Linked DNA regions of Homo sapiens: region 2 is linked to region 1. Evidence: promoter capture Hi-C in human tissues and cell types (Jung and others, 2019). All regions are on one chromosome and are shown on one strand. Each heading gives the region's core, a stretch centred on a gene start or on the middle of the fragment in contact. The rest is flanking DNA. Distances are from core to core; before and after follow the strand shown. Region 1 holds the start of SLC25A48 (solute carrier family 25 member 48). Region 2 has its middle 59 kb from the start of MIR5692C1.

Region 1 (5,129 bases), core at 1,723-4,222:
GAACAGCATGGGAAAGCCTGTACCCATGATTCAATTACCTCCCACAGGGGTCCCTCCCATGACATGTGGAATTATGGGAGCTACAATTCAAGATGAGATTTGGGTGGGGAAACAGCCAAACCGTATCAGCCTTGTTGCAGCAGTTAGTGACTGAAATTGAAAGGGAAACTGTTCTTCAAAGACAAATTCCCGAGAACACTGAGGAGGAAGGAAATATCTGTGTTAGTAGAGGTGATTTAACCAGGTAGCTAAGGGCTCCTGGAATATTAGATATTTATAGGGACAAAGAAACCAGCTAATCCCAGAACAATGATTCCCTGGGTCCAGAACCACCTGTCCCCTCTTATCCCCTCCTACCTACTAAACTGGGCAGAGGCAGAGAGGTGATGGCAGTAATTAACCCTTCCCAGTAGTGGGGGGAGGTGCGCTGGTCCTCAGGCTCCATGGCTTCCCCCATAGTGAGTGCACACATCCTTCAGCTCAGGGCAGGCTTAGATCCAGCCTTGGGCCAACATCTCCCTGCCACTTATTAGCCCACCCATCTGAAAGCAGGGGATTTGAGATTTAAAAAAATGGGATTATAAGGTCAGTGATTTCCAGACCTTGGCACTTCACAAACCAGTAAAATCTCAAACAAAATGTGTGTGTGTGTGGGGGGGGGGGGTGGGGGGGGGGATAATATCAAAAAAAGGGCAAAATTTTGTTATGCAAGGTTGTTCAGAAAGAGTTAAGATGAAATTAAGATGGCAGATTCTGGTGCCAGGCAGCCTGGGTTGGAATCCTGGTGCCAATGCTAGATGCATGGTCTTAGGCAAGTCAGTGAATTTCTCTGTATCTCAGTTTCCTCATCTGTAAAATAAGGATGCAACGGTACCTACCTCTTTGGGGTTGTTATAATAATTAAAGAACTATACATAAACTGACACAAGAGATCACATATTGCAAGATTCAATTGACATAACATATACAGGAAAGGCAAATTTACAGAAAGGAGATTAAGGAGAGGGAACAGCATTCAACTTCAAATGAGGGATCTTACTGGGGGATGAAAATGTTCTAAAACAAATTTATGGTGATGGTTGCACCTCTTTGTAAAATTACTAAAAGACATTGAATTGTACATTTGAAATGGGTGAATTTTATAATACATAAAATAAACCTTGATAAAATTGTTTTAAAAGAATACATATAGCACTTAAACTATACCTGGCACCTAGTAAGTATTCAAGTGTAGTAAACACTTACCATCATTTCATGGAAGCCAAAAAAAAAAAAAGCCATGTTATTAGTTTGGTGCAAAAGTAATTGCGATTTTTGCCATTACTTTCAATAACATCACCAAAGTAAGGACCAGAATAAAGCACAAAAATCCCCTACTTGCTGTGAGTCGGGGAGGGTTCACATGTTATCACGTTTGGGGATGGGGAGGGGTATCAGAGTCTTGGAACTACTCTGACTCAGCCCTACCTTCCAGGGCATTTTTCAAACCAAGCCATTTGCATCCCTACCGAAGGTGGTCTGCTTATTTAAGGGGCAGCCCACGGAAGTGTCTCCTCTCTCTGCCTGCCCCGCTGAATGGTGGAATAATTGTCCAGTCAAAAAGGACCTGGATATGCCCAGCGGGCCTCAGGCTGCAGCCCCCTAACTGGGAAAGTTAGGAGAGGCGGGTCTCAGCCCCACCCAAGGGCATCTGTGCCAACAGACTTACTCAAGGTGAAAGGAGCCACCTCTGCTCAGGAAGGTGTGAAGCAGGGCCCTGCAGCCACCGGTCTCGGGAGAGAGGTGGTCTCCTGCTAGGTAGGAGGGGAGGAGTTGGGATCCAATCTGGTTTGTTGTTCTTTTCATCTTATTTTTTCACCCCTTTGGTGAGGGGCTACATTTGCCAACATCCCTTTTAGGATAACCCTTTTAGATGGGTCCAAAGAAAGACTTTTTTTTTTTTTTTTTTTTTTTTTTACAATTAGCAAAGTCCCTCAAACTTCCCCCTTTCCTAATAGCTGAGAAAAGAGGGATAGACCAATTGGAAAGAAAAATGGAGAAGCAAGGAAATGAATGCAACTCTCGCCCAGGCAACCCATCCCAGGCCCAGTAAAAGAGTGGCTTCGGGAGCTGTGGCGAAGGGATCAGCAGACCCAACAGTGCCCGGAGAAGGGGCCTTGGAGGTAGGCGATGGCTGACGGTTGGCGGCGGCTGAAGGCAATAAGTGCTCCTCGCAGCCTGGCAATGGGCACCTGCAGCCGGCGCTCCGCTCCCTGCTGTGAGAGCTCTGCTCCCTCCAGTCGGGACGCCCCGTTGGGCCGGCCTAATCTCGAAGCCTGGCTCCCACCACCCTGCGCCCCGGGATCAGCAGCCAAGCGCTACCCTCATACATAAGTTCCCGCGAGCCACGTCCGCAATTCAGGTGTGCACCAGGTCACTGAAGGGTGTGTGCGCCGCCAGGAGCCTCCATTGGCTGTGGGCTTTGACGAGCTGTTTAATCATTACCTCATCAAGTCCCACGGATCCTAACTTAATGAGCAAATCAGAAGCTCAGCCCGAAACGCTGTGAAGCTCTCAGAATTTAGCCCTGGCAACTGCAAGACCACCAGGGGGATCTCGGGGCCGGGCACTCCCCAAAGCAGGCTGCGCGCACAACGGGGAGCGGGATGGCAGCGCACAGAGGCAAAGTTTCCTCAGAGCATAGAGGCAAACTCCGCCAGGCTCGCTCTCTCTGACCGGGGGTCCCCGGTAAGCACACTCACCTCCGATCCAGCCCGCCGCAAAGTCTTCCAGCTGGAAGCTTCCCATGGCCGGCGCTCGGTCTCGCCCTCCCGGAGCCGGGGCAGTGCCCACTTAGAGTCAGTGGGGCATGGCCCGCGGGCGCGAGCGCGCCGCAAGACCGAAGTCGGAGTCTCGAGCACGCCGCAGGTCCTACTCCAAACCCAGTCCCCCAGTCACCGGCTGCGCGGGCTGCCGCGCTCACCTCTCCAAGTGCCGGAGGGCGGCTGACATCACGCCCCCAGTGGACCTTAAAGGCACAGCACTCTGGGTGGATAAGGGTGCGCTCCGCGCGGCTCATCCCAGACACAAAGAGGCAAGGGTCATCAAGTGAAATTCTCTTAGTCCTCCCTTCTCCGGGTTATCCTCTTCCTTGCCAACTTCAGAGCCTCAGCGCCTTTGAACTGAAAGTGCCAGCCGCCCATCCAGAGACGGCAATGCGCGTATCTCCCTGTACTGTGCTGTGCTGACAATGCTGATTCCAATCAGCTGTGGACTCTCTCCCATCCCAACTCTGGGCAGTGATGCCTTTTTGTTCATCTCAGCCATGTCCCACTCAGTACCCCGTGCCTAGAGCAGGCACCTGGTGGTTCAGGGTCATGTCTAACTTTCAGCTACAGCTCTCTAGGGGCCCAGCTCCCTGCCTGGCCCTGGCTCACCCTACACTGTCCGCCCTGGGCCAACAGAAGGCAGAGGTGGTGCTCTGTACCTCAAACTCCCTCTCTGTAGGCAGACCCTACATTCAGCCAGGCCCCAGGCCAGGGGTCCGTGCTCACTGGAGAAGTGGCCTGCTGTGCGGAGAGGCTTTTGATTACAATGAGAGTGTCTTTCCTCCCTTCCTAAGAAGACTCGAAGCCCCCCAGCGTTCTGCTAGTTTCCAGCAGGGACTCAGCTGTGGGTCTCAGCCAAGACACCCCAAGGTTGACAAGAATGGTGAAGGGTATGGTCAGGAGGAAGGGGCCTCTGCTGGGCCTGCTCTTGTCCCACTGGGCATATTCATGTCACGTCATCCAGGTTAATATGAAGCGACAGCCAGCCAGACCTCCTTCTTCCAAAGCAAGACAGAGCCTGACCACCGAAGCTTGATCCTACAAAGGCCTGTCCACTGAGGAGTGGGGACTTGGAGGTGAAGGGACCTTCCTGCAGCATCACTCCCTCCCCTGCCCCGGCACACAGAGAGTGGACCTGTATCGGGAGAGGACAGCCCGGGATGGAGTCGCCGGCCTGGCTAGGGAAGTATTGCAAAGTTCCAGGGAGGAGTGGAAGCATCACACCCCATCCCGGCACCTCAACTTCCTGCTGCTTATGGTGACCCACTCAGTCTTGAGGCTTCAGAGTTGCCATCAGCATCAACCCCAAGCTGTGCCCTGTCATGCCCGGGATATATGCCTAGGGCTGCTATGAGAAATGCAGGTCTCTGAAGAGTGGCCTTTTACTGAGTTCACCATTGGAATGCATCCACAAGTGGAAAGCCTGACAATTCTCAAAACCCACTCCTCTGGAAGACCACCTAAGGGGTGCCAGGCAGTTTGTCATCCCCTCAGTCCTGTGTCAGCACCAATTGAGGAGGTCTTACGTTGGCAGGCAGTGTCCCTGGCAGCCCAGGATGGCCTCCCAGGCCCAGAAAGCTGCTGCTTGAACTACTAACGAGCTGGAGCAGAGCAGGAGTGGGTTGCTTTCCAAAATGAATTACTGTGCTCCATTCCCATATGCATGCCACAAACCTGCCCATGGGGCGCATCACCCAGGGAAGTGAGGGGAGGACCCTAGGTTTACCAGCAACCATGGCCAGGCCTGGAGAATCCCAGACCACAGGGCTATGAGCCCAGGCAGAATGCTGGCTCTGTGGCCAGGATCCAGGCCATCCCTTCTTCCTGGCCTTCGCACTTCAGAGCACCATTTGCAGTGTGCTGCCATTCACATTTGCATTCTACACTCGGGAGAGGGCAGGGCAGCTACTGGCCATTACAGAGAGAAAGAAACTCCACAGAGATCCACTCCCTGCATGACTAGGGCCAGAAAGCAACCCCATTTTCTTTCTCCCTCAGTTCCTTCCCCAATGATGACCTCTCAGAGCACTTTCCTCAGTAGCAGGACATGCAGATGGGCTATGCTGATAGCATTTGTTAACTAGTGGCCCACTCCCCATTTCTTATTTACCCTTTCAGGCCACAGCAATTTCCTGAGCATCAGTCTGTGCTAGTGCCTTGCTTTGGGGAAAGTCTCTGTTTGAGAGGAGACAATCCATCTGAGATGCTACACAGAGGTGGCTGTAAGAGCACTGGAGAGGGAGTCCATCGTTCTACAGGAAGCAATCAGGGAAGGCTCTCCAAACTTGGAGTCTCCTGGCTGCACCTTTAGTCTACACAGCC
Region 2 (5,129 bases), core at 891-3,390, 90 kb after region 1:
ACCACCTTTACCAAGCCATCAAGCTTCACATTACCAAAAACGGGACAAATTGACATTATCCAAGTGTGTTCTGCAGGAAAAAAAAACAACAACAAAAAATACTTAACCTGAATCTAATGACGGGGCAAGAGTGAGGAGAGGATCAGACAAATCAAGATTATGGGATATTCTATAAGACAACGGGTCTGGAGCTGTCAAAATTATCAATGTGATGAGACTCCCCCTAAAAAAAGGAAGGACTGATCTGAATTAAAGGAGACCAAAGAGACGTAACTCCAGGCAATGAGTGAATCTAGGGTGGGAGGGGTCTTATTTGGAACAATTAAAATTGGAATATAAACTGTCTATTGACTAATAGTACTGCATCGATATTAAATCTCTTGGGTATGAAAATGACACTGAGGTCATGAAGAATGCCTGTGTTCTTAGGAGATGCACTGCCGAAGTATGTATGATAGGAAATCCCTGAAAAGGAACAGAAGTGAGTCCCAGTCGCTCCGCCCAAGGTTCACGCGTGCCCACAGCCCTCTCTTTTGGAGACTTATTTTGCACCGGAGAATCGGATTGTACCTGCAAGGCGGAAATGCACGACAGCAGTTCCGGTGACCACAAAGGCAGCAAAGGCGACAGAATGGAGAAGGTGCCTCACGTGAGTTCCTGGAGGAGGCGTGGGTGGCAGGGCAAAACTGTAGCGAGCTGCTGTAACTGTGGTCTTGTCTCTGTGCAGACTTTCCAGGGGCCCTCAGTGCCCAGGGAGGCCAAGGTGCTTCATGTCAGGGATGCCCCAACCAGCGGCTGTGCACTTCTGGAGTGGGGGCTACCCCAGACCCGGGTAAGAAAAAGGCAAGGCCTCAACAGGAAGTGAGAGGCGCAGGCCTGGAAAAGGCTGCACATGGGAGGGAGGGAGCGGGATCTGCAGAATGAGTGATGGGTACGGGCTAGAAGGTATTGTATACGGAGAGGAGTGGGGCCTAGAGGGCGCTGAGCATGAAAAGTAGGCAGCGTGAGGGCGGAGCTTGAAATGAGTGACAGGGAGGAGGACTGTAGAAGGCGAGAGCAAAGGATGTGGCACGGATGGAGGCCAAGACTAACCTGTGCAGCATCAGAAGGGACATTAATTAAGAGGATCCGGGACAGAAGTTTGAGTGACAATAACTGACCACAGAGAAAATGGGATAAGCTTCAAAGTCAGGGAGTCCTCAGACTTAAATCCTGGCTCTGCCAGCTATTTTCTTGACATAATTTTCTTCCTTTTGAGGAGTGATTCTTCCGTTCATTCAACAGAAGTGTGTTGACCGCCTCGTAGGTACTGTGCTGTGCTGGGGACACAGCTGGGGATCAGGCATGGTCACTGCCCTAGTGGAGTTTAGCTTAACAGGGGAAATATAAACACGTGAGCTAGCAACTAAACCACCACAGCTTTAAGTGCTGTGAAGCACAGATTCAAGGATGGGAGGACCTTAGGAGCCTGCTCAGAAGGACCTTAAAAAGCAGGAGGCAGGGGGAGAATCTTTTTTTTTCTTCCCACCACCCCCGCTGGCCTTTTTTCCAGAGGGAATCTTGCTGTGTTGCTGGGAACAGGCCCCCCACATCTGGCCATAAACAGGCCATGAGAAACTGGCCATAAACAAAATCTCTGCAGCACTGTGACATGCTTGTGATGGCTATGACACCCACGCTGGAGGTTGTTGGTTTACCAGAATGAGGGCAAGGAACACGTGGCCCACCCTGGGTGGAAAACCGCTCAAGGTGTTCCTAAACCACAAACAATAGCATGAGCGATCTGTGCCTTAAGGACATGTTCCTGCTGCAGATAACAAGCCAGAGCCTGTCCCTTTGTTTCCCATAAGGAATGCTTTCAGCTAATCTATGATCTATAGAAATAATGCTTATCACTGGCTTGCTGTCAATAAGTATGTGGGTCAAACTCTGTTCGGGGCTCTCAGGTCTGAAGGCTGTCAGCCCCCTGATTCCCACTCTGCACTCTATTTCTGTGTCTTTGTCTTAATTCCTCTAGCACTGCTGGGTTAGGGTCTCCACAACCGAGCTGGTCTCGGCACTGTGTAGCCCAGGCTGGAGTGCAGTGGTATGATCTCAGCTCACTGCAACCTCCGCCTCCTGGTTTCAAGTGATTCTCATGCCTCAGCTTCCCCAGTAGCAGGGACTACAGATGCCCGCCACCTCTCCTGGCTAATTTTTGTAGTTTTAGTAGAGACAGGGTTTCATTATGCTGGCCAGGCTGGTCTTGAACTCCAGACCTCAGGTGATCTGCCTGCCTCAGCCTCCCAAAGCTGGGATTACAGGTGTTAGCCACCACACCCAGCCAAGGGGGAGAATCTTGAAGGAGTTCAAAGAGAGAGTTGGGTTTGATTCTTGGGTCCATGTGGTGTGACCATCAGCAATAGTCATAACCTCTCTGAGCTTCTGGTTCCTCATCAAAAATGGAGACAGGCCAAGTGCGGTGGCTCACGCCTGTAATCCCAGCACTTTAGGAGGCCGAGGCAGGTGGATCACTTGAGGTCAGGAGTTCAAGACCAGCCTGGCCAACATGGTGAAACCTGTCTCTACTAAAAACACAAAAATTAGCTGGCATGGTGATGCGTGCCTACTCTTGAGGCTGAGGTGGGAGGATCACTTGAACTGGGGAGGTGGAGGTTGCAGTGAGCTGAGATCATGCCACTGCCCCCCAGCCTGGGTGACAGAGTGAGACCCTGTCTCAAAAGAAAAAAAAAATGGAGAGAAAAATAGTTACCTTGTCAATCCAATGGAGAGACTGAACCATCTCTACCAGTGGAGGTTTATTGAGCCAGAGCTTGAGGGCATGCTCTGGAAAACACAGAAATGTCTGTGGCCTGTGCTCCCTGGAGAGGTTCCAGGAGGCTCGTGTTTATATATTTCTTTAAAAGGGGAAAAAGCATGCAGGAAAAAGTGCAGTAGGCCTTGAGGCAGTTAGTTAAATTCCTGTGAGGTTTAAATTAGAGCCCAGTATATCTATGCTATACAGAAGATAAGGTAAACATTCAAAAGAGGGAGTAAAAGAAGAATTAATTAGATGTCTCAGGGTAGGAGAGGAAGGATTAATCTTATCCTGTCTTTGTTTGGCATGTGAGAAGATAAGCTTGTAATGGATGGACATCATCAATGTGACATTTAACAGACATCAGTAGCAGACAAGGAGTTAGACTGAGGTTACAGTCCTAAAGTTACAGTTAACATGTCCTTGTTTATGGGAGGATATTCATCTTCAAAGGTTTAGGGGCCATCAAAGAAGCTCCTTAGGAGCAATTTGTGAGGGCAGTCATCCCACGATGGAGATGCATGAGGCCTTTGGCCTTTTGCAGGGGTCTAGTTAATGTAGAATGCTTTGATCCAAGGTTGGGAAGTAACAGCTGTCTGTTGATGGGGAGGAGGACAGCAGTGTTGGGAGGTTTCCAGGCTTAACTTTCACTTGAATTTGAGCAGTAATGAGACATTTTATTTTCCATTATACCTCGTGTGTTAAGGATTTGAAATGAGATAGTTTCATTGACAGATACTTAGTACGTGCCTGCTATCTATCAGGGTTTCTCACCCTCCACATTGTTGACATTTGGAGCAGGATTATTCTTTGTTGTGGGGGGCTGTCCTCTGTATCATAGGACAATTAGCACAATCCCTGGCCTCTACCCATCAGATGCCAGCAGTACCTCTCCTGTCACAATGAAAAGTGTCTCCAGGCTGAGCGTAGTGGCTCATGCCTTTAATTCCAACACTTTGGGAGGCCGAGGCGGGTGGATCACTTGAGGTCGGGAGTTCCAGACTAGCCTGTCCAACATAAAGAAACACCGTCTCTACTGAAAATACAAAAATTAGCCAGGCTTGATGGCAGCCACCTGTAATCCCAGCTACTTAGGAGGCTGAGGCAGGAGAATCACTTGAACCCAGGAGGTGGGTTGCAGTGAGCTGAGATCATGCCACTGTACTCCAGCCTGGATGACAGAGTGAGACTCTGTCAAAAAAAAAAAAAAAAAAATGAAGGGAAGGGAAGGGAGGGGAGGGGAGGGGAAGGAAAGGGAAGGGAGGGGAGGGGAGGGAAGGGGAAGGGAGGGGAGAGGAAGGGAGGGGGGGGAGGGAGGGGAGGGGGAGGGGGAGGTCTCCAGACATTTCTAAATGTCCCTGGGGGATTTTGTCCCCTAGTTGGAGACCATTACTATACGCAAAGTTCTCTTCTGGAGCTGGGAATACATCACTGAAAGCTTCAGACAGTCCCTACCCTTGTGGAGAATATGTTCTAGTTGGGGGAGACAAATGTGTAAACCAATAAATGAGGCACTTTCAAGTGTGATAATAGCCTTATTTTCTTCCTAGCACTTACTTCTACTGTTGACTAAGAGGTATTTCAGAGGATACTTTTAAACAGCCCCAGGACTAGGACTTAGCTCTTCCTAGCTTACTGAAAGAGTGACATTCGAGGTTCGGTCAGAAACCTCATCCCCTAAACTTTGGCTTTCTTTGCAGCTATAGAGGAAATCAAAGAGAAAATGAAAACCATAAAACACAAAATCTTGGTATTGTTTGGGAAAGGCAGTGTTGGGAAAAGCACATTCAGTGCCCACCTTGCCCATGGCCTAGCAGAGGATGAAAACACACAGGTGAGACCTCAGGAACCACTGGGAGATGTTCATTCTATCTGAGGGTCGTGATGGCTATTAAATAACGGATTCCTAGGCCAGGTGTGGTGATTCATGCTTGTAATCCCAGCACTGTGGGAGGCCAAGGCGGGCAGATCACTTGAGGCCAGGAGTTTGAGATCAGCCTGGCCAACATGGCAAAATCCTGTCTCTACTAAAAATACAAAATATTAGCTGGGTGTGGTAGCACAGGCCTGTAATCCCAGCTATTCAGGAGGATGAGCCATGAGAATCACTGGAGCCCAGGAGGTAGAGGTTACAGTGAGTCGAAATTGTGCCACTGTACTCCAGCCTGGATGACAGAATGAGACTCTCAAATACAAAATAAATAAATAAACAAAAATAATTAAAAAAACTGATTCCTTAGACTAAGTTGAATTGGCCTCTTTGGAATCTCAATCCCTGCAGAGAACAAAGAAATGCCCAGTAGTCAAATGAAGCATTTCATTGGATTCTGTA

The links. The method cuts DNA at HindIII sites, captures the fragments that hold promoters and counts their contacts. A contact is called where the count stands out against the background at its distance.
Region 2: a contact is called between a fragment that was not itself captured here and the fragment with the promoter of SLC25A48 in region 1, in 2 of the 25 tissues and cell types used here (mesendoderm cells and spleen).

Annotation. Positions count from the first base shown.
Region 1 is chr5:135,832,506-135,837,634 of GRCh38, reverse strand. SLC25A48 (solute carrier family 25 member 48) reads right to left here and starts at 2,972. Exons shown (of 8, transcript NM_001349336.2): 1 at 2,742-2,972. The coding sequence starts at 2,787. RefSeq lists an enhancer at 3,506-4,007. The HindIII fragment of the contact is 4,672 bases long and covers 1,025-5,129 here.
Region 2 is chr5:135,741,958-135,747,086 of GRCh38, reverse strand. It overlaps a transcript of SLC25A48 not described here. Among named protein-coding and RNA genes, the nearest start is that of MIR5692C1, 59 kb to the left of the region's middle. The HindIII fragment of the contact is 3,075 bases long and covers 603-3,677 here.